2 separate regions of the Homo sapiens genome follow, and region 1 is linked to region 2. Evidence: promoter capture Hi-C in 16 types of primary human blood cells and fetal thymus (Javierre and others, 2016). All regions are on one chromosome and are shown on one strand. Each heading gives the region's core, a stretch centred on a gene start or on the middle of the fragment in contact. The rest is flanking DNA. Distances are from core to core; before and after follow the strand shown. Region 1 has its middle 19 kb from the start of ALOX5. Region 2 holds the start of ZFAND4 (zinc finger AN1-type containing 4).

Region 1 (4,829 bases), core at 508-3,007, 320 kb before region 2:
ATGTCAGACGGGTTTCAAGATGAGTATGAGAATTGGTCTTCCTTCTGAAAAAACAAGAATTGAGTTCACACTAATCACAAATACATCAAGCCTATTTGAGTCTTGTGTGTGTCATGGATTGAAGTGTATCTTTCCACTTAGTCAAGAAGTTCCAATGAGAAGAATGCTCCTTAACTTCCTAAGTGCAACAGAGTAGTTGAACTGAGCCATGGATGGTAAATCTACTTAAGAAAGCACATGCCATGGAAAGATAGCATTGGCTGCCCTGCCTACTTCTGATGGCACAGCCTTGCAGGAAGGGAAAGAAGCCAAGAGGCAAAAGCCTGGTCTTGTTCTGAAAGGCACAAGGAGGTGGAAGATTAGGGGAAACTCACCCAAAAATGACTCAGCTCTGAACTCAGACTCAAGAAGCCACAATAAGCAACATGAATGGAACTGGAGGGAAATAAACCAGGCGTAGAAACACAAATGTTGCATATTCTTACTCATGTGGGAACTAAAAACATGCATTTCAAGGAGAATAGAATGATGGTTATCAGAGACTGGGAACAGTTGTGGGTGGGGGTGTTAAGAGAGGTTGCTTAATGGGTACAAACATATAGTTAGATAGAAGGTATAAGTTCTAATGTTTGACAGCAGAGTAGGAGAACTATAGTTAACAGTAATATATTGTATACTCCAAAATAGCTAGACAGGAAGATTTGAAATGTTCCCAACACATAGAAATGACAAAAGCTTGAGGTAATGGATACCCTAAATATCCTGACTTGATCATTACACAGTCTATGCGTGTAACGAAATACCATATGTACCCCATAAATATGTACAAATATTATGTATCAATAAAAATTTTTAAAAAGAAGCTGCAATCAACATTTCATCATTATCTTTTCAGCAGCATCCTTACAAAGTTACAGAGACATCTTAAGATGTATCCCTCTTCCTCTGAATCTTCCTGGGATAGAACAAATGAAAACTAAACAAGGAGTGGGCTGGGAGGAGCTGTCAACATCCATCCTAAGGAAAAGTCTGTTAGGGCTATGAGCTTCCTCTGTCCTAGAGTAGAGCTGGGAAAATAGAGTCTTGACAATTGATTTCTTATTCTTTCTTTCTCTAAATCCCCAATGAATATGTTTTTCTTTTTAGTGCTCAGTGGTAGACAGGGCTTAATTCTGTTTAGTTATGCAAACAGGCCAGAAGAAACTGAAATAGGCTATAAATGTTTGAAGCTGGCCAAAAGAAGATGTAGTCACACAAGATACCCTCTGGAGGAAAGTGACTGTCAGGAAAGTCACTTTCCTGACCAGCAAAAGGACCAGCACTATTTTGTCCTGCTGAAGAAGTACATTTGTCCTGCTGCTGTCATGGGGACAGTGGCTCCAGGGCTTCCTGTGGACATGCCACAAGTTCCACTCCATGAGTCAGGAGATCATGCGGTCAGCTGGGGGGAACTTAGGGTTGCTCTCTTGAGCTTAGCCTTATGCTGCGTGTCTGCTTTGCCAACCACAAAAACGATAGTTTCATAGCAAGTTGCAGGCTCCCTGGAAACTTAACCTACCTACTAGGATACATTTACAGCTGCTTTTCTCCTGGCATCAGGCTGGAGATCAAGAAATACATAAAACATAGTCCCTGCCCTCAGTTAGCTCAGAATATGGTGGGGGAATGGAGACAGAAGCAAATACTGGTGGGACAAGTGACGATGGGCCAAAATATGGGCTTAAACAAAGGTTGTGGGAGCTCAGAAAAGGAGCAACTCACTCTGCCTGAAAGAGTCATGGAGGGCTCCACGGAAAAAGCAACATTTGTGCAGGAGGAGATTAGAACACAGAGGAGAAGGATAGCAGCACTCCAGATGAAGGGAAGGAAATGTGCCAAGATTTCATGGGAATGAGAAGATGTAAACTGCTCAGGAAAAACCATGGTTGAAGCTCTTCACAGTGGCTGAAGCATGGTGTGATTGTCAGTTTTGCTTGTCAACTTGGTCAGGCTGTAGTACTCAACTATTCAACCAAGCACTGATCTAGGTATTGCTGTGAAGGTATTTTGTAGTCGCAATTAACCTCTACAATCAGTTGACTCTATTTAAAGGACATTATTCTGTACTATCTGAGTGGACCTGATCCACTTCATCCCAAAGGTAAATGATTCTCCAACAGTGTTCTCATCTACATCTAGGGCTTGGAAGATGAAGGTGAAGGAGAATATGGAAAAACAACAAGAAAAAAGTCAATCAATCAGAACTTCCAGCCCTGTGTTTGTTAGTTCACTTTATGTTCAACCAGTATGTCTCCACTTTTATCTGCTTCCTTGTAAGATTTCATCTGAAAAAGGGAATTCACTCTTCAGGTGTTGGAAATCAATTATGAGAGAAGCACTTACAGAATGACTATCTGAAGAGCTCTGCAGACATTCTCCAGAGTAAAACAACCATAACCGGTGAAAATTAAAAACAAACAAAATAAAAAAATGTTAGAGTATTGGAAATTGTTCTAAGGGCCGACAGCAAATGAAGAAATCCAAGAAAGCCTACCAATTTCAGTGAGAGGAGTGAGAGTCTATGGTGTTGAGTCTATGGTGTTTAAGTTCTGTTCATTTCCTCCCTCTCCTGCAATCAGTTCAGTGAAACAGAAACCCTGCTCCAGAGATGTGCAGCCAAAAAGACAGGGTGCCCTTTCCCCTCAGCTCCCAATCTAGGGCAGACTACCAGCATTTCCCAAGCCCATCTCTGGCTCTATGTTGCAGAAGTTCTATTCCAAGAAAGTTTGACTGAGAATCTGAAGCTTCCTTCTTCCACTCAGCCTCTACTATTAAGGCGTAAGTTCTATCCCCAGTGCCACGGGCCAAGAATACTGATGCTGAATGTCCTTGCTCCGCTACACTCATAGGGCAGAGATTCCATGGGAGGAGTGAAGTTTCCATTCCAGAAAAGGCAGAAAAACAGAAATTACTGCCCAATCCAGTACCCCACCCATAAAGAAGGAAAGACATCTGAGAAAAGCATGACACTGTCCCCAAAACCACCTGCAGAGTAGTGGCAGTAGAGGCAGTAGGGAGACTAGAGGACCTGCCTAGAGGGAGAAGTAGGCCATAAGAAGAAAAGTCTCTAGTTCTCCCTAAAGGGACAAACTTTATTTGCAACAGAACATGCGGAAGTTCAAGCCTAAGGGCACTGTCAAAAACAATGAATATTTTGGTGGTAAGCAATTAATAGGTTAATGGCAGCTTAGTGAGAGCAACAAACTAAACCATAAACCAGCTAGACATATACAATAAAAATCCAAGAAAGAGAGAGCCAAGAAGGGCCTTCCTGAGGTTAAAACAAACATCAAAGTCTTGTCTGAAAAACTGCTCCTGCAAAGGAAGCAAAATATATTTGGATCAGACTGTGGAGCAATTTATGCCCCTAAAAAGCTGTCAAAACCAAAAGAGCAATTATCTAGCAATTGCTGGAGGTTAACAGTTGGGTATGATACCAAAAGAGGCAAACAACTGAACAGATCAGAGAAAGAGGCAGTCAAAGAGAGCACTGCTAAATGCACTGTAATTCCAATTTGAGAGAAAATGTGCCCAGTGCTGTGACTCCCTCAGGAACAACATCAGAGGCCACAAATTATGGTGGAAATAGGCTTCACTATATAGTCTAGCCAGGCAATTAAACAAATAAACAATTAAACAACAGTAACATAGTGAGGGGGGCAGAAATGAGTATTGCAACTAGCTAGAACATATTTTTGAACAAAAAAATTATGAGTCAAGCAGAGATATGGAAAAGACAGAGCCATACACCAGAAAAAAGGTAAGCAAGAGAAACTGCCTTTGTGAGTGCCAAGATGTCAGACATAGCAGAAAAAAAACCTCAAAGTAATTATTATAAATATGTTCAAAAACTAAAAGAAAATGTGCTTAAAAAATAAAAGATGGTATGATAATTTCTTGTCAATTCAAAAATACCAATAATAGATTAAAAATATTTTTTCAAAAGTTAATTAACCAAATGGAAATTCTGGGGTTTAAAAGTAAAATAACAACAATAAGAACATTTTGCTAGAGGAAATGAACAATAGATTTGTACCAGAAGGAAAAATAATCAAATAAACAGGGATTTCATCAACACCAAACCTGTCTTACAAGAAATACTAAAGGGAGTTCAATCTGAAAGAAAGAACATTAACAAGCAACAGGAAATCATCTGAAGGTACAAAACTCACTGTACCTTCAGATGATAATAAGTCCTCAAAAAACACAGAATATTATAACACTGTAATTATGGTGTGTAAGCTACTTATATCATAAGTAGAAAGAGGAAAAGATGAACTGATTAAAAAACAATTACAACAGCTTTTCAAGACAGTATAATAAGATATATAAATAACAGAAAGCTTAAAAGCATATAAATAAAGTTAAAATGTAGAGGTTTTTTTAGTTTTCTTTTTGCTTGATTGTGTATTTATTTATGCAATCAGTGTTGTTTTCATCAGCATAAAATAATGGGTTATAAGATAGTATTTGCAAGCCTCATAGTAACCTCAAATTTAAAAACATACAATGTATACACAAAAAGTGAAGAGCAAGAAATTAAAACATACCACCAAAAAAAATACTTTCACTAAAAAGGAGACAGGAAGTAAGAAAAGATGGGAGAGAAGATCACAAAACAACCAGAAAATAAATAACAAAATGGCAAGCAAGTCCTTATTTGTCAATAATAATATTGAATGTAAATGGACTATACTCTCCAGTAAAAAGATACAGAGTGGTTGAATGGATTAAAAAAAAGGACCCAATGATCTGTTACCTACAAGAAATAAACTTCACTTATAACAATA
Region 2 (5,437 bases), core at 1,379-3,878:
CCCAAAATCTCCTTAAGCTGATAAACAACTTAAGCAAAGTCTCAGGGTACAAAATCAATGTGCAAAAATCACAACTATCTGATTTTTTTTTTTTTTTTTTGAGACGGAGTTTCACTTTTGTTGCCCAGGCTGGAGTGCAATGGTGTGATCTTGGCTCACCACAACCTCCGCCTCCCAGATTCAAGTGATTCTCCTGCCTCAGCCTCCCTAGTAGCTGGGATTACAGGCATGTGCCACCACGCCCGGCTAATTTTTTTGCATTTTTAGTAGAGATTTCTCCCAACAGGGGTTTCTCCATGTTCGTCAGGCTGGTCTCAAACTCTCAACCTCAGGTGATCCGCCTGCCTCGGCCTCCCAAAGTGCTGGGATTACAGGCGTAAGCCACTGTGCCCAGCCTACAACCATCTTTGACAAACCTGACAAAAACAAGACGTAGGGAAATGATTCCCTATTTAATAAATGGTGCTGGGAAAACTGGCTAGCCATATGTAGAAAGCTGAAACTGGATCCCTTCCTTACACCTTATACAAAAATTAATTCAAGATGGATTAAAGACTTAAATGTTAGACCTGAAACCATAAAAACCCTAGAAGAAAACCTAGGCAATACCATTCAGGACATAGGCATGAGCACGGACTTCATGACTAAAACACCAAAAGCAATGGCAACAAAAGCCAAAATAGACAAATGGGATCTAATTAAACTAAAGAGCTTCTGCACAGCAAAAGAAACTACCATCAGAGTGAACAGGCAACCTACAGAATGGGAAAAAAATTTTGCAATCTACCCATCTGACAGAGGGCTAATATCCAGAATCTACAAAGAACTTAGACAAATTTTCAAGAAAAAAACAACCGCATCAAAAAGTGGGCAAAGGATATGAACAGACAGTTCTCAAAAGAAGATATTTATGCAGCCAACAGACACATGAAAAAACACTCATCATCACTGGTCATCAGAAAAATGCAAATCAAAACCACAGTGAGATACCATCTCACACCAGTTAGAATGGCGATCATTAGAAAGTTAGGAAACAACAGATGCTGGAGAGGATGTGTAGAAATAGGAACACTTTTACACTGTTGGTGGGACTGTAAATTAGTTCAACCGTTGTGGAAAACAGTGTGGCAATTCCTCAAGGATCTAGAACTAGAAATACCATTTGACCCAGCGATCCCATTACTGGGTATATACCCAAAGGATTATAAATCATGCCACTATAAAGACACATGCACACGTATGTTTACTGTGGCACAATTCACAACAGCAAAGACTTGGAACCAACCCAAATGTCCATCAGTGATAGAGTGGATTAAGAATATGTGGCACATATACACCATGGAATACTATGCAGCCATAAAAAAAGGATGAGTTCATGTCCTTTGCATGGACATGGATGAAGCTGGAAACCATCATTCTCAGCAAACTGTCACAAGGACAGAAAACCAAACACCGCCATGTTCTCACTCATAGATGGGAACTCAACAATGAGAACACTTGGACACAGGGAGGGGAACATCACACACTGGGGCCTGTCGTGGGGAGTGAGATGGGGGGAGGGATAGCATTAAGAGAAATACGCAATATAAATGACGAGTTAGTCGGTGCAGAAAACCAACATGGCACATGTATAGCTATGTACCAAACCTGCACGTTGTGCACATGTACCCTAGAACTTAAAAAAAAAAAAAAAATCAATTCCCAAAGCATTTCTCTCATTTCTTCTGAAAAGTTTCTAAAAACACAACTCCAAGGATGAAATGGAAGTTAAAGGTAAACAGGCAATAGCGCTGAATACGTAATTTCAGTAACTCAGAATTTTCTCCAACCTCTGCTCTAAAGAAGCTTAGCTACAGAAGAGCAGTTACCTTTGAAACATTTTCCCCAACATAAAGATATCCGGAATGTGAAGCTGCCATTAAAACTGTGACACAGATCTACATTTACTGATACATCAAAACATCCCTAAAGTTCGAAATACGAGCTACAGAATCACATCAACCGCCTAACTTGTCTGTAGCCTAAACTCTAGTCCGGAGTTCATCTGCAAGCGGAATTGGGAAGTATTTCAGAGCCAGCATCTCCTCGCGCCATCCAGGTACCTACACACTTGAGGCCACCGAGTCACCTGCGCAGCCGTTGCTCCTCCAAGACCAATCCGGGCTCCCCAGACCCACCGGCCTGAATCTGGAGGACAGCAGTCCGCGTGACAACAGCGACTCGGAGATCAGCACCCGTCGGGAAAGCCGCGTACCCGTTGAAGCTGGCGTCACGCCCAAAGGAACAAACGCCAGAGCGTGTGTCCTGGGCAAAGGCGGCCCGCCGCTCCGGTCCCCGGGCAGCAGCGGCCGGCGTCAGGCCGCAAGGCGAGGGGCGGGGACAGGACTCTACCCGGCAGCCCAGCGCCGAGCGCCCGCGCCACTCCGGCCTTGCGCCATTCCGGCCCCACGACGGCCGGCGGCGGCAGCGCGGCTGGGCTCAGCGGCTCGCAGCCCGGGCGCCCCCCCTGCCGGCCGCTCGCTAGCTCAGCCTCACCCGCAGTCTTGTCCGCTGGCTCGCTCGCCCGCCTACAGGTCGACAGGGCCCAACGACCCGGCGAGCAACTTCACGGAAGGCACTGGCCGACAACGCTCCGCTGCCGCCGCGCCCCGCCCCTTTGTGACACCACCTACCAATCGCTGGACGGCGCTTTCGCTGCCCTCCAATCAGCGCGGGCGGGGGCAGGCCTGGCCCCCGGACGTGGGCGGTTGCCGGGGCGCCAGGGCCCTGGGGCCTTCTTGGCATTCGCTGGAGGTTGTGAGTTACGAGGCCCGGATGTTGATCTTTTATTACTAGCAACACTGGACCCCTGACTCGTGCCCACGCGGGCGTCTGGAGGGCAGCCGCATGGCCTGCTGGGAACGGCGGGGTTGAAGCCGGAGCCGCCCTCCGTGAGACCCACCGGGGATCCTCTTCCAGGCGCCTGATTTGCTGGAGATAGGCGATACAGGCAGACGCTGTCCAGTCGGTGGCCTCTCCAGAGTGAGGGGCGCTCCTGGTGCGTTTGGGCCGGCCTGTCCTAACAAATCTGCTTTAGGCTTCACCGTCCCCTAATGTTTCTGGCCTCAATTGCCTCATCTGGAAAATGGGGGCATTACCGTGCCTGCTTGAAGACAAAGGCGAAAACAGATAACTTTCTGTAGTCCTCATACAATTTACTGAGAACTGTAGGCCAGGCAATGGAGTAGGCACCCTGGGCTCAAATCCCAGCGTTGGGTAAGCCCAGCCACACCTCCTGCTCCAGTTTCCAAGCTGCTGAGCTGCGGTGTAAACAGTAACTGGCTTCAAGCCAACACCTGCCTTTCAACCTAACATGGGAGCCCACTGCCTCGTTCCGTTCCCCCTACCGATTTTCCAACTCCGTGAACCTCCTTCACTAAGTGGGTTACTCAGCTGACAAAGAATGTCATCTCACTCCCACTGCGGGTTCACTCATCCTCGACTTCTGGCTCAGAGGAGCCAGTCTAATATGAAACTAAACATCTAATCTGTGTCTCCTGTCCTCTCTCATTCTTCTGAGACCCTACCCACCAACTTATCTCCACAGTTCAACGAACTATTGAGCATACACTGGGGGAGTATGGTGAGGCACTGGGCATTGATTCACCAGTCTCGCCGTTGGTTCCTTCTGAAACTCCACATATGCTTAATGCTAAATAGATTGGAGACCTTTGAGGACAGAGCTATGATGGTAATCATCTTTGCATTCCTGAGCCTAGAATAGGGCCTGTGATGGAGACTTACTGAGTAAAAACCTTAGCGTTTCTCACCCTTGCCTGCCCACTTCATTCACACTGGAGAATTGACAGCATGGACCGTGGAGTCAGGCAGGTGTGTTTAAAGCCTTGCCTCCCAATACCAGAAGCTCCATTACCTGGCCAAGTCATTCATTCTTTACAACATCATCATCATTATCATCTGCCATTCTTCAAGTGCCAGATAGTTGATAAGGGTCTTTACGTATTCTCTCCCCATCACAATCCTGCAAAGTTGGTAGTGAAATCCCTCGTCTACAAAGGAGTAAACAAAAGCCAATTAAAGTAGAACAATTTACCTATAATCAAACAGCTCTATGTCGGAAAGCCATATTTAAACTAGGACACAATACAAAAATCCAACCTTGTTCCATTATTCCACATTGCTTCCAGATTTTAGCTTTATCTGTAAAATTAGTGTTACTACATTACCTATCTGATAGACCATGGAGACTGAATAAAATAGCATTAAAAGTTGTTACCATAGGAACTTTTTTTTAACGTAAGTTCTCTCTCCCTTTCAAGCCTCTCAAAATAGCAGCTTGCGTATTTTCTAAACCTGTTGTCTCCTGAATCCCCTGAAACCAATCCTACTGATTGATGAGTAGATTTAGTTGTTCCAAAAGAAAATCATCGTATTTAACAAATGCTGACTCTGACCGACATTGGGTACTACAGCAAGAAACTATGTGCACAAATAACCTACGGACAGAAGGAAGATGCATAAAATGAATAGGGGAAAGGAGTGGCCAACTAGCAAGTGCCCTCATCTGTCATCACGTCACTCTCACAGCAGACTTGGGCAAATGGTTGACCTGTGGGAGCTGAACAAAATCTTTGACTCTGGGTATGAGTAATTCCCTGTCTGATCTTACAGTGCCCAAGGAAGAAGTCAGTAGCTCCAGGATCGCTGAGACCAACCTGGGCGGCCTACAAGACTGCACCATGGTGACAGGCTGAATAGTCAGCAGCAAGACGACAGAGCACCAAAAAACACAGACTAGAATGGGGTCAGCCATCCAGGTGGCTAGTGGCTACTGCCTTTGACGATGCAGATAAAGAAAATTTTCATTCCTGCAGAGTTCTATGGGGCAGTGCTGCTCTAGAGGCTGACATTTCTATCCTCAGCACTTCCCCCGGCTATTACCTAGGTTCATTCTGCTGCTTCCACAAGGCAAGAATGGAACAGAATGCCTTAGAGCAATGGTCAGCGAACTGTTTATGTAAAGGGGCAGGGCCAGGCGCAGTGGCTCACGCCTGTTATCCCCGCACTTTGGGAGGCCGAGGCAGGTGGATCACGAGGTCAGGAGTTCAAGACCAACCTGGCCAACATGGTGAAACCCCAACTCTACTAAAAATACAAAAATTAGCTGGGTGTGATGGCAGGCGCCTGTAATCCCAGCTACTCGGGAGGCTGAGGCAGGAGCATCGCTTCAACCCAGGAAATAGAGGTTGCAGTGAGCCAAGATCACATGACTGCACTCCAGCCTGGGTGACAGAGCAAGACTCCGTCTCAAAAAAATAAATAAAAGGGGCAGATAGAAAACATCTGAGGCTCTGTGAGCCATCCGGTCTCGTCATAATTACTCAACTCTTACATTGGAGGTAGGGTGAAAGCAACAATAGAAAGTAAGTAAATCAAT

The links. Contacts are between HindIII fragments. The CHiCAGO score rates a contact against its expected background, and 5 or more counts as called.
Region 1: a contact is called between a fragment that was not itself captured here and the fragment with the promoter of ZFAND4 in region 2, in 4 of 17 cell types (naive B cells, M1 macrophages, neutrophils and 1 more). The highest score is 8.0, in naive B cells.

The regions. Positions count from the first base shown.
Region 1 is chr10:45,353,016-45,357,844 of GRCh38, forward strand. No RefSeq gene overlaps it. Among named protein-coding and RNA genes, the nearest start is that of ALOX5, 19 kb to the right of the region's middle. The HindIII fragment of the contact is 2,048 bases long and covers 734-2,781 here.
Region 2 is chr10:45,670,144-45,675,580 of GRCh38, forward strand. It overlaps ZFAND4 (zinc finger AN1-type containing 4), which reads right to left and starts at 2,629. Exons shown (of 10, transcript NM_174890.4): 1 at 2,107-2,629. RefSeq lists a silencer at 2,212-2,931. The HindIII fragment of the contact is 4,202 bases long and covers 1,844-5,437 here.